Regions from separate parts of the Homo sapiens genome. Here regions 1, 2 and 3 are each linked to region 4. The links are contacts of gene promoters, found by promoter capture Hi-C in blood cells and fetal thymus (Javierre and others, 2016). All regions are on one chromosome and are shown on one strand. Each heading gives the region's core, a stretch centred on a gene start or on the middle of the fragment in contact. The rest is flanking DNA. Distances are from core to core; before and after follow the strand shown.

Region 1 (3,302 bases), core at 542-3,041, 84 kb after region 4:
TCCAAATTATTGAGAAATTTTAGAAAGTGTCTCCTTCATTAATGGATATTTGTTAATAAAGCATGATTTTTAGGGGTGAGGAATTGGAGGGGATAGAAGGTATCATTCAGGTATTCTTAGCCACATACTAACTATCCTCTGGAGGTACTGATTAAAATACCTTTTCACCTTCCATCTCTTATCAGTGACATTCATTATTTTGCTATACTAGAGAACAAACTTTGTGAAATTCTCAATATATTCATCTTTTGCTTTCATGAATGCCAGAAAGTTTATTTTCTCTTCCATTCTAGGCTACAGCTCCAGTTGGAGGTCCAAAACGTGTTCTCGTGACTCAGCAATTTCCTTGTCAGAATCCATTACCTGTAAATAGTGGCCAGGCTCAGCGGGTCTTGTGTCCTTCAAATTCTTCCCAGCGCATTCCTTTGCAAGCACAAAAGCTTGTCTCCAGTCACAAGCCGGTTCAGAATCAGAAGCAGAAGCAATTGCAGGCAACCAGTGTACCTCATCCTGTCTCCAGGCCACTGAATAACACCCAAAAGAGCAAGCAGCCCCTGCCATCGGCACCTGGTAAACTAGCTTTTGAGACTCATTGGATAGTCCTTCTTTGTCGTCGTTGCTAAAAAAGCCAGTGTATATACTTGCACTTATTGTTTGGAGCCTTAGCTTTTATATCTGTTGAGGATGGGGAGAAAATATGGTGTCTGGGTTGAAGTAACAGTGTCTGCCCATGGGCCAGACCTATGCTAAAAATACAGACCTGATTCTCACCCTCTTGGAAGAGTTGGGCACCCAGGGAGGACACAGCATAAATTGGTGTCCTTTTGATTGCTTGTTACTGAGTCTGGATGTAGGGTGCTTGCAGTAAGTGACTTGAAGGGACTGAGATCTAAAGTGTGGGGGAAATCCAGAGAAGTGGGTGAACTGAGGCAGGCTGCGGTGAGGTCACCATGGGCATTGCTGGCCATGTTAAGGAATGGGGCCTCATCTCTAGGGCATTTGGAAGCTACTGAAGCTTTTTTGAACTCAGAAGGGAACTCTGCCTTTTAGAAAGTTTACTGTGGAAGGCCAGGCGCAGTGGCTCACGCCTGTAATCCCAGCGCTTTGGGAGACCGAGGCAGGTGGATCACCTGAGGTCAGGAGTTGGAGACCAGTCTGACCAACATGGAGAAACCCTGTCTCTACTAAAAATACAAAATTAGCCAGGCGTGGTGGTGCACGCCTGTAATCCCAGCTACTCAGGAGGCTGAGGCAGGAGAATGGCTTGAACCCAGGAGGTGGAGGTTGTGGTGAGCCGAGATTGTGCCATTGCATTCTAGCCTGGGCAACAAGAGCAAAATTCTATCTCAAAAAAAAAAAAAAAATTTACTGTGGAAGTACTGAATAAATTGGAGTAGAACGCTGGATTTAGGAGTACCAGACAGGAAGGAGGTTGAGGTCAGAGATGGCAATAACCTGCTCTGTGTGGAGCAGAGTGGATGCAATTATTTACCAACTGTTGAGTGCTCATTCCCTGCAGGCTCTGAGATAAGTGCGTGCTTCATCCACGTCATCTCTTTCAATCTTCGTAACCACTTCATGAAGGTAGCCAGTTATTAACTCAGTTTTACAGAGGAGGAAGCTAAGACTCAGAAGCAGTTAACTTATCCAAAGACAAGCCAGGATGGAGAGGTGCACACAAATTTGAGAGCTCATTTACGATGCAGACTCATTAGAACTGGGCAATAAATTGTACCTGAAAGATGAATAAAGAGGAGTTAGGGATGGTGATTAGATTGATATTAATTGAGTGAGTGTCCTGGGGGTTGAGGGGTGCACATGTGACAGGGGCATCTGGAGGAAGAGTTTGGACCAGCATCCAGATATCTGAGCAGAGCATTGTGTGCTGTTCGAGTTTGCTATGTTGGAGACAGACCAGTGGAAATGTTTCATATGTCCTTGTGGCTGATGAAATAGTTACCCCAGTCCTCTGCTGCACAACTGTTCATTGTGCATTTTGCTGAATTGGTGGCTTTTATTTTTATATTTCCCCTTGGCAGCTAATATAAATGGAGGGTGGCTGGCTTATGTTTTGCTACATGTTGGTGATAATTCGTATGTAGGGTATGGACTGTTGGCTGGCCCACCTAGTAAGGGGAAAAAGGTGACGAGTTGGCAGCTCGTCATGCATGGGAAGATTGGTACTTCTGCCACAAAAGCTCTTCTTTGGAAACTGAGGCTTCAGAAGAGCCTGCATAGTCTGCCTTTAATTTATCAGAGAAGGGCCTGTCTATATATACGTCTGCTCATCTTTAGAAATTCTATAAAGGCTTCACATGATGGAAGTCAGGGTGTAGTAGTCCTTTTTTTCTATAAGGAAAACTTTAAAAAAAAAAAACAGATTTATCATTCTTGACATACCATTAATATTTTGGTGACCAATTCTTTGATTCACCTCTATTCACAGCTTAGCTTATCCTATATAGTTATTCTAAAAACAGGTTTTTAACTTATTCCATATAGAAAATAATCCTGAGGAGGAACTGGCATCAAAACAGAAAAATGAAGAATCAAAAAAGTAAGCTTTCTTATTTACAAAGTTCTGTACTGTTCTACTAGAATATATTATTTCGTTGCAAATTTCGTTGTGGGAACTCTGGGGAAAAAAATGAGGCCTTTATTTGCATTTAGAGGATATAAATGTTTCCAGATTTCCAATCTTAAAAAAAATGGAATTTTGTGTAATGAGGTATTTTACTAGGAACTCAAGTGCTTTAAAAAATGGCTTTCAAATTTAGAAAAAGCTTGTATGAATCTTTTATAGAAATGTGTGGAAGTTCCTCTCTGTCCTTAGAAATAACCACTACATATGGTTTATGCGTCTGTACTTTTTTATTGTACAAAAGTGCAAGTTTTTAAAAAATAGAATATGTTGCAGAACTATATACTCATATATGACTGAGGGTTTTGACAGTATTATAGTTTTAGTTCTTTATTGTAAAGGTTGGCTGTAATGTCTTCCCCAGGGCTTTTCTAAAAGCCTCCTCTCAGTCTCTGAACTATCTGGACTCTAGAATGTACCGGGAGGAGCGAGGAATGAACCCACAGACTCTTTTGCTTTTAGCGGTCTAACAGAGGCTAAGAGTCTAAATCCACTGGTTCTCATGCCCCAGCTAGCCTGTGGGCTCCATCCCGCTTCCATTAGTAACAGTGGCTCTGTCTCCACCACCAGAGTGGTTCTCCACCCAGAGAGAATTAGCACCTCTGGGACTGGAGGGAGCAGCTGGGGTTAGTTTGAAACATGCCCCCAGATGGTCTGGAAG
Region 2 (3,009 bases), core at 471-2,970, 100 kb after region 4:
AATCGTGCAGGGGGAGAAATCCTTGAGCCAGGGCTGCCATATAACCTGACAGGAACATGCTACTGAAGTTTATTTTACCATTGACTGCTGCCCTCAATCTAGAACGCTACACAAGAAATATTTGTTTTACTCAGCAGGTGTGCCTTAACCTCCCTATTCAGAAAGCTCCACATCAATAAACATGACACTCTGAAGTGAAAGTAGCCACGAGAATTGTGCTACTTATACTGGTTCATAATCTGGAGGCAAGGTTCGACTGCAGCCGCCCCGTCAGCCTGTGCTAGGCATGGTGTCTTCACAGGAGGCAAATCCAGAGCCTGGCTGTGGGGAAAGTGACCACTCTGCCCTGACCCCGATCAGTTAAGGAGCTGTGCAATAACCTTCCTAGTACCTGAGTGAGTGTGTAACTTATTGGGTTGGCGAAGCCTGGTAAAGCTGTTGGAATGAGTATGTGATTCTTTTTAAGTATGAAAATAAAGATATATGTACAGACTTGTATTTTTTCTCTGGTGGCATTCCTTTAGGAATGCTGTGTGTCTGTCCGGCACCCCGGTAGGCCTGATTGGGTTTCTAGTCCTCCTTAACCACTTATCTCCCATATGAGAGTGTGAAAAATAGGAACACGTGCTCTACCTCCATTTAGGGATTTGCTTGGGATACAGAAGAGGCCATGTGTCTCAGAGCTGTTAAGGGCTTATTTTTTTAAAACATTGGAGTCATAGCATGTGTGTAAACTTTAAATATGCAAATAAATAAGTATCTATGTCTGTGTGGAGTGCTGTGTAATTCTTTCCACCATCTGTTCATTGTTGGCCTGGAAATGAGCAGGGGCTGAGAGGAGCAGGTCTCGCCCTCATCTAGTCCTGCCTCTTCTGGTCTCTCCTGTTGGGTGTACTCCTAATACTTCATTATATATATTGTTTATATATTTGTCATATCTTTGTCATCTGTCCATCGACTAAAGATACGGTGAAAGTGACTGTGATGAAGGAAAAGTAGAAGTGTTGAACTTAGAGCTAGTAGAGAAATCTGCTTGCATGGCCAATGCTCAGTGCAAGAAACTGGACAGCAGGTATGTCAGGATATGTCATAACAAAGTGGCCAATATAGAGAAACTTAAAAACATGACTCAGTAAAACTGCAGCTGCCAGCCCCCTTGGGACAAAGGGGCTTCTGGTTCTCATAGTCTTGAGCTGAACTGACTTTGACCTTCCCAAATAGTTCATGTGCCACCCTCCCAAGCTATAGTTATTATCACGTGACTGACTTTCCCAGTGACACCAGTGAGACTTGGGACGTTTCCCCAGACAATCCCACACAAGCAAAGAAAAAGCTCATTGTAGTAGCACATTAATACACTGGTCACAGTGCCACTTCATCATCAGCAACAACCATGGCTTACCAGAAGGAATATAAAAAAGTTCATAAACTATAAAGATGTTTCACAGAATTTAAGCTGCTCACTTTGTCAGATAAATTAGAGAAACAATGGCTTTCATTTTTAAAATAGATGTTTTATTCTGCTAGTTCCATAAAAACAATGTAAACACAGGCGTTCTGTACATCTTGCTGGTGAATTCACATAATGCTTAGTTCCCTGATCCTTTGACCTCCTTGTCTTCTCCGGTTATTTTCTGTTTGGACCCCTGGCCACAGGAGTGGAGTGGGGTTGGGGCTTAGGAGAGAGCAATGTGGCTTTTTGGTATGATTTGTTTTATTGCTTGCCCGCTCAGCACGCTCCTGTTACTCCTAACAAAGTTTGAGATTTAAGCCCTTAAACCTGTAGGTTTCACCATCAGTTTTTCTTTTTTTTCTTTTTTTTTTTTTGCATAGGCATTACTAGGGACATAAATGGGAGACTGGCATAGAAAGTGGTGAGGAGCCGAAGCCAAGGAATTGCTTTAAACACAAGATGAAAATACTCTGTTCTGTCCAAAGCATCACCTAATGGTGTGAGGCATCTCACTTAGCTGTGGAGAAGTCCTTGGAATTAGATCTCAGAAAGACAGCTTTAAGACAGTAAAACCTTTTGGCAATGGGCTAATTGCCTTAAAAGAAGAGTTCTACCTGAAAGACCTTGCAGGTGGAGAAATTGTCCTACAAAGATTCTTGGATATGTTAGTGGAGATAACTGACATGGGTAGCTGTGGGTCAACCAGGAACTGTCAACAACCTGATCTCTGCAAAACCAGGATGGCCAGTTAATGGTTTATTCAGTTCTCTGATGGTCACAAATGTAATTTTATTTAGCCTTGTGGAGGTTCTGCAACAAATGTAATTTTAAAGGAATTAGGAGCCAGAAAGATAAATGCAACTCCTTCAACTACGTGACAGGGCAGACTGGTGAATCTGGGTTCCCAGAGTGTGGAGCAAGTGCCCTGCATCAGAGAATGGCCCAGGGGGAACGTGCATGATGCTGAACCCCGCAGGACAGAATTACTTCAATCGCCTGCTCCTGACTACTATAAGGACGAAGCCTCAGTGTCTCAGTTTGGATCTACGCTGGGATTTCTTTCTTTTGGAGACAGTGTCTCCCTCTGTCGCCCAGGCTGGAGTGCAGTGGTGTGATCTTGGCTCACTGCAACCTCCACCTCCTGGGTTCAAGCAATGCTGCCTCAGCCTCCCCAGTAGCTGGGACTACAGGCGTGTGCCACCACACCCGGCTAATTTTTGTATTTGTAGTAGAGACGGGGTTTCATCATGTTGGCCAGGCTGGTCTCGAACTCCTGGCCTCAAGTGACACGCCTGCCTCAACCTCCCAAAGTGCTGGGATTACAGGCGTGAGCCACCGCACCTGGCCTCTATGCTCGAATTTCTACTCTTAGCTAATCTCTCTAACACATATGCCCTTCATTGGGTAAAGCTGGCTCAGCAGACTAATTACACCTGTCATGTAATACAAGCCTCTCCCTGGCTTGTATTATCTCATGGTTGCCTTCTATTTGTGACAAGTGCTATGAATATTCCTTTTTAAGAAGTGATACAAAATCTTTTTTTTTCTTGAACAGG
Region 3 (3,059 bases), core at 444-2,943, 130 kb after region 4:
AATACAAAAATTAGCCAGGAGCGGTGGTGCATGCCTGTAATCCCACCTATTGGGGAGGCTGAGGCAGGAGGACTGCTTGAACCTGGAAGCCGGAAGTTGCAGTGAGCTGAGATTGTGCCACTGCACTCCAGCCTGGGTGACAGGGCAAGACTCCGTCTCAAAAAAACAAAACAAACAAAAAACATTCCATACACGGAAGAGTCTTAGTGCTTGGGAGATAATAAGTGCATAGCCCATGTACCTGCTACCATTTACTATGATGACAGTGAAGACTACTATTTGTTATTATTGTTATTACATTACTATTATTACATTACTATTATGCAGAGGAGTTTCAGGCCTAATTAATAAGAAGAGCTGCACTTTCTATGCCAGGCTCTGAGTGCTTGGTGCAGATGGTCACACCCCTATTGGTGTTGGAATTATCACCATTTCGATTTTGCAGATGAAGGAACTGAGGCTTGGGGAAGTTAAGGGAGGATGGGGGCAAGGGTGGATTCCTGGGATTCTACCCGACGTGGGAGGCTTCCTGAGCCACGGCTGGCCTGGGAGCTGAGTTTCTTGCAGACCCGTGCCCGGTCATTCAAACGGTTCCCATCAGCATTTCCAGCACGCTCCGAGGCTGAGAGTTGCGCGCTCGTGCAGGAAGGCAATCTGGATCTGATGGTTGCAGGGGGCTGCAGAGCTCGGCCTCGGAAGCGGGCGTTAGGGGATCAGGGCTCCGCGGGCGTCCAGCTTGGAGGTGAGCGGGGGTCCTGGCGGGGCGAGGAGCGGGTCCCGGCACCGGATGACCTTGCACCAGGCGGCCTCGCCCACGAGGTGGCGCCGCAGGCTCTGCCAAGGCTCCGACCGCGCAAGGGGAGGCGCAGCCCAAGACTTCGAGGTTTCGCGGAGTCCCAAAGGCAGCTCCTCAAGACAGCCTCGGGCAACTGAGCCTCTAGACCCTCCGCAAGCCGCAATTGCCTTTTTTGGAAGCTTGTCGTAAATTCATCAGGCTTGGGCGCTGCAGAGCTAAACAGGCAACTGACATTAACTACTCTTCTATTTTCTTTTTTTCTTAATTTTTTCCATTACATCAAAATGAGTCCCCATTTATGCACTACGTACGACTTGACACAATATCTTCAAAGAGGAATATGGCAACACAGCAGGTAGTTTTACAGATGGGGAAACTGAGAGATTATGAGTGGAGTGGAACCAACATGGAACCCAAGGCTGTTTGGCTCCCAAACTGCCCTTTTTCTAAATCCTCAGGTTATTGAATAACCTCTCCCTACTCCTCCCGCAGATTCTTCCACCAGCTATTGGCAGGGGAAGGAAATAGGGGAAGTAGAGGGAGAGATTTTCTGAGAAGTGAAAAGTGATTTCTGGGTATGGCACAACAATTGCGTTCATGGCTGGGCATGGCTTTGGGATACATTGAGGAGGGAGATCATTCTGGGATCAGGAATGGCAAGCCCTCCCTTGCCCACGGGGCCAGATGGTCGTATAAATGAGTGAAGCAGCGAGGACAAGGCTTGTGCAGGAGAAACACACCCGTCTAAGGAAGGAAGCTGCTTCTGGGCTCTAGCACATGGATACCGCTGGCCATGTGGCCTAAGGTGGCCACATCCACTGATCTCTTAAGATAACTGTATGGTAGATTGCAAAAATGGCCACAAATTCTTTCCCTCCCATCCAGGGTGGAGTCTCTTTCTCCACCCCTTGAGTCTGGGCTGGCCTAACACTTGCTCTGGCTAATAGAATACAGCAGAAATGATGGCATGTGCGTTTGAGCCCAGCCCTCAAAATGTCTTGCACCCTTTGGCTTTTGTCTTTAGAAACTAGTCCACTGTAAGATGAGACCACGTACAGCATCTCAGCCGAGGACACCCTTGGCCAGCCTGCCTCATCTGATCTGGCAGCTGACTACAAACCCATGGACAAGCCCAGCTGAGATCAGCCAGGCTGGCCCTGGCCAGCAGAACCATCTGGCTGAGCCCAGCCCAAATTGCTGAATGACAAAAACAAGAGAGAGTAAATGGTTGGTTGTTACACAGAAAATGCTAACTGATCCAAGCTGAATATCTGGGTTTTAAGAATGTAAAATCTCCTGATTTTTAAATGTTGGCAGTGAGTTTAAAAAGAAAATCCACAGGTCAAACCAAATATTTCTGAATGCTGCATGGGGCCCTGGCAATCACCAGTTTGCAAACAATGCTATAAAGCGGGGGTGTCCAATCTTTTGGCTTCTCTGGGCCACGCTGGAAGAATTGTCATGGGCCATACATTAAATACACTAACACTAACAACAGCTGATGAGTTAAAAATAATCACAAGAAAACTCATAATGTTTTAAGAAAGTTTATGAATTTGTGTTGGGCTGCATTCAAAGCCCATGCAGCCCTCAGGCTGTGGGTTGGACAAGCTTGCTATAAAGTCTATAGAATGGAATGAATCTCGTTTGGCTGCTTGCAGCAATCTTGGCATATGTAAGTCTTAGTAAATGAATAAATACTAATAGAATGTGAGTGTATGGAATGATTTCTTACACCTTATACAAAAATTAATTCAAGATGCCAAAGTGCATCAGTGTATTTATGCTTTCCTCTTGAGATATGTACCAGTGGGTGAGTTCCTTTGTTCAAGATGATCTCTGGTCCTGTTTAAAAATAGAATCTTCTCCAGGTGTGGTAGCTCATGCCTGTAATCCTAGCAATTTGGGAGGCTGAGGCAGGTGGATCACTTGAGGTCAGAAGTTCGAGACCAGCCTGGGCAACATGGTGAAACCCCGTCTCTACTAAAAATACAAAAATTAGTCAGGCATGGTGGCAGGCACCTGTAATCCCAGCTACTCAGGAGGCTGAGGCAGGAGCATTGCTTGAACTGGAGAGGCAGAGGTTGCAGTGAACCAAGATCTCCCATTCTGTGGGTTACCTGTTCACCTGATAGTAGTTTCTTTTGCTGTGCAGAAGCTCTTTAGTTTAATTAGATCCCATTTGTCTATTTTGGCTTTTGTTGCCATTGCTTTTAGTGTTTTAGTCATGAAGTCCTTGCCCATGCCTATGTCCTGAATGGTA
Region 4 (3,207 bases), core at 537-3,036:
AGCATTTGTTGTGTGAATAGTTATAATAAAAATCCATCCTGCCTAGGCATTCTGGCTTTTTTGAATCGCTCTTCCTTCTTTTCTACCCTCTTCCGACACCTGTTTCTTGTCAAGCCTTTCATTAAGCTACTCCTTTTCAGCCCTGGGCACAAGAAAACAAAACTGAGCTAAACACTTTTTTGGTGAAAGCCAAAAAACCACTCATGAATGCTAATTATCCAGCATTCGCCTGTTTACATGTACGTATGATCAGAGGGTACACTTCATCCTCTTGGGTATTCATTCATTCCCATATTCACACATACTTATTAGGTGTCTATTATGTGGCTGACACATGGTAGGGGTTACAGAGGTAAGACACACAAGGTTCCTGTCTACGTGGGAAAGAGACAATAAACAACACAGTGGTAGGCACTGTTAAGAAGAGAAGAGAGAATATTGGAAGTGAGGCACATTTCAGTTACAGTGGACAGATGACATTTGAGTAAAAAACTGAATGAAGTAAAGAAACTCATCATGTGACAATCTCAGTGAAGAGTATTTCAGATTGATGAACTCACACTCCAGGTTGAAGAACAAGAGGCCTGTTTAGCTAGAACAGTATGAAAGAGGTGGAGAGGGGCAGAAGATGAGGTCAGAAACATAGGCAAGGTCTGCTCAAGGGTCTGACGAGATTTTATTCTTAATGTGATGGGAAGCCACTGGAATGCTTCAAATACAATAGTGACTTAAGGGGTTTACCTTTTAAACAAGCTCTCCAGCTCCTGAATCAGAATACATGAAGTCTCCACGTGTGCTTTACAAATATTTTTGTAAAGAAGTCTCTACTAGGTGCTTTACAAATATTTTATCATTAAAAAGTAATTACTTGTGCTAACTTTGAAATCCCAAATAAGTGGATGGGAATCCTGGCTTCACTACCTACCAGCTGTGTGATCTTAGTCACCTTAATATCCCTGGACTCAATGTCCCCGTCAGTAGCAAAGAAATTATTATAATTTCCTCGATTACTTGTGAGATCAGGGATTATTCACTCATTTGTTTATTCGAAATATTTAGTGTGCCAGGAACCATGCTAGTTGCAGAGAAAAAAAGGGTACAGCCTCTGCTATCAGGAACTTACCGTCTAGCGGGGAAGACTTGATACAAATCAACCACGTACAGCCGTGTGCAGGCTAAGACAGTTTATAAAAGGATGTGGTAAGGGAACAGTTTGGGAAGGCTTCTCTGAGCAAATGAAGTTAGTGTATACAAAACTCAGTATACACTAGGTATTTGTATTATTGCTACTAGTCGCAGGTAGGGTTCAAATCCTGGCTCTGCCATTTACTAGCTTTGCAAATTTCTCCTTTTGAGCCTCAACTTCCATGTCTGAAAATGAGGACAACAGTATGTAGCTATAGGGCTATTGTGATAATTACATGAGATACCCCCTGTTAAGATTACTGTCCAGTGAATGGCAATAGTCAGCACCCATTGAATGTCCACTCTTAATACTGTTGTTAATTTTGAGTCCTCTGAATGGAATAAAAGACCGCAGCCAGGTCTGGAACTCCGCTGGCTCCCCCTTCTTACTTCCTCTCGTTTTCTGGGGTCGTCAAATTCCCACCACCCCCGGTCGCCAAGAGCCGGCCCACATCACTGACCTTCTCAACCTTCTTCGGCCCCTTCACCAGTTCATGCCTCTTGGGGATTGTTCCCCCGTCGCAACCCATCGCAGGACGGGAGTCAGAGCCAGCAGCAAACCCCCAAAGCTGTCACTTCCGGGATTTCCGGCGAAATCCGCAGCCACTTCCGGCGCACCGCCGTGACGCAGCACGCTGGTCGTGGCGTAGCGGGGCGGGGCGGGGCGGCACGCTAGGCGCGGCGTAGCGGGGCAGGGCGAGGCCGTTACCAAGTGCCGGTTGTCATGGAGAGCGTCGCTTGGAGGCTGGGCGTGGGCGGGTTTCCTCGTTCCCGTGAGACCCTGGGTTTCTGCTGCACAATCGGAATCACTCGCCCACGCTCCGGGAGGGCAGCGAGGGCGTGGGCGGCCCGTGCGCATCCACCGCTCTTTGACCCTATCCCACGCCAGCTTGTGTGGCTGCGGAGCGGGCACATCCCTGGACTGAGAGCGCCTTGAGGAAAAGGGCCGCCCTCCTGTTTCTGCGATTAAGGATGCCTATGAACGGAATCTGCTGTATCAATGGACATTTTTGTGTTTAAAAGGAGAACGCATCTTTCTTGAGCGCCAACTGTGACTCAAGCACTCACAACAAATCTTGTGAAGTGATGTTACAACAGATTCTAGGAAGTAAGACCCTCCCTTAAGGCCTGGAACTTTCTGGTGTTGCCATGCATATTGTAGATGGCATGTGTGTGAAATTTTGCATACAGTTTGTGCGTGTGTGTATTTCATTCACAGTTTCCTGAAGCCCAGGCTAAAAAAATTTTATTAACAATCAAGTATCATTAATAGACGATATAATAGTTCTTATAAAATATACACTGATGTTGCCATGCCCGTTCCAAGAGTCAGGCTGTATTTTATCTATAAGAACACAAATCCCTTGCTAAAAATTCATGATTGTCTGTCTGCTCTTAGGCGATTGTCTATCTCTCTGTTTGTTCCTTTAATTATTATAAATATTATGGGAAAGTGCCTATAATCCCAGCACTTTGGGAGGCCGAGACGGGAGGAGCACCTGAGCCCAGGAGTTCCAGGTCAGCCTGGACAACATGGTGAGACACCATCTTGAAAGAAAAAGAAAAATTAGCCAGGCGTTGTGGTAAGCTTTTGTAGTCCTAGCGGCTCCGGAGGCTGAGGGGGTAGGAAGGATTGCCTGAGCCCAGGAATTCAAGGTTGCAGTGAGCTTATGATTATGCCACTGCACTCCAGCCTAGGCAACAGAGCAAGACTCTGTCATTAATATGTATGTATGTATGTATGTATGTATTTGTACATATATATGATGGGAAAATTTCTCCATTGCCAAGAAGGCAGATCTTTATGATTGGATATTACCCTATTGACCTACGTGAAACATAAAAACGCTGAAAATATTTTTTACTTGGGAAGAGTTGCCCAGAAAATACGTGGATGTGGAAACTTCAAGGGCTATATGTAAGCTTGGGGTACTTGTTACTGTGATTAATGAGAATTTTAAAAAATAATCCCTTTAATTAGTTGGTCTCTGATTGATTTATGATTTATTTCTATGCTAACCA

Evidence for each region. Contacts are between HindIII fragments. The CHiCAGO score rates a contact against its expected background, and 5 or more counts as called.
Region 1: a fragment that was not itself captured here is called in contact with the fragment with the promoter of RTF2 in region 4 in 16 of 17 cell types (neutrophils, monocytes, total CD8 T cells and 13 more); the score reaches 15.5 in neutrophils.
Region 2: a fragment that was not itself captured here is called in contact with the fragment with the promoter of RTF2 in region 4 in 8 of 17 cell types (neutrophils, monocytes, naive CD8 T cells and 5 more); the score reaches 11.4 in neutrophils.
Region 3: a contact is called between a fragment that was not itself captured here and the fragment with the promoter of RTF2 in region 4, in 1 of 17 cell types (activated CD4 T cells). The highest score is 5.2, in activated CD4 T cells.

The regions. Positions count from the first base shown.
Region 1 is chr20:56,383,525-56,386,826 of GRCh38, reverse strand. AURKA (aurora kinase A) reads left to right here. Exons shown (of 9, transcript NM_198437.3): 3 at 294-570; 4 at 2,503-2,557. Among named protein-coding and RNA genes, the nearest start is that of AURKA, 7.0 kb to the left of the region's middle. RefSeq lists an enhancer at 1-741. The HindIII fragment of the contact is 1,547 bases long and covers 1,018-2,564 here.
Region 2 is chr20:56,367,148-56,370,156 of GRCh38, reverse strand. It overlaps FAM210B (family with sequence similarity 210 member B), which reads right to left. Exons shown (of 3, transcript NM_080821.3): 3 at 1,494-3,009. It overlaps AURKA (aurora kinase A), which reads left to right. Exons shown (of 9, transcript NM_198437.3): 9 at 1-767. Among named protein-coding and RNA genes, the nearest start is that of FAM210B, 9.7 kb to the right of the region's middle. The HindIII fragment of the contact is 8,673 bases long and covers 1-3,009 here.
Region 3 is chr20:56,341,813-56,344,871 of GRCh38, reverse strand. No RefSeq gene overlaps it. Among named protein-coding and RNA genes, the nearest start is that of FAM210B, 16 kb to the left of the region's middle. RefSeq lists a silencer at 625-919. The HindIII fragment of the contact is 1,432 bases long and covers 978-2,409 here.
Region 4 is chr20:56,467,206-56,470,412 of GRCh38, reverse strand. RTF2 (replication termination factor 2) reads right to left here and starts at 1,786. Exons shown (of 9, transcript NM_016407.5): 1 at 1,647-1,786. The coding sequence starts at 1,715. The HindIII fragment of the contact is 9,363 bases long and covers 1-2,775 here.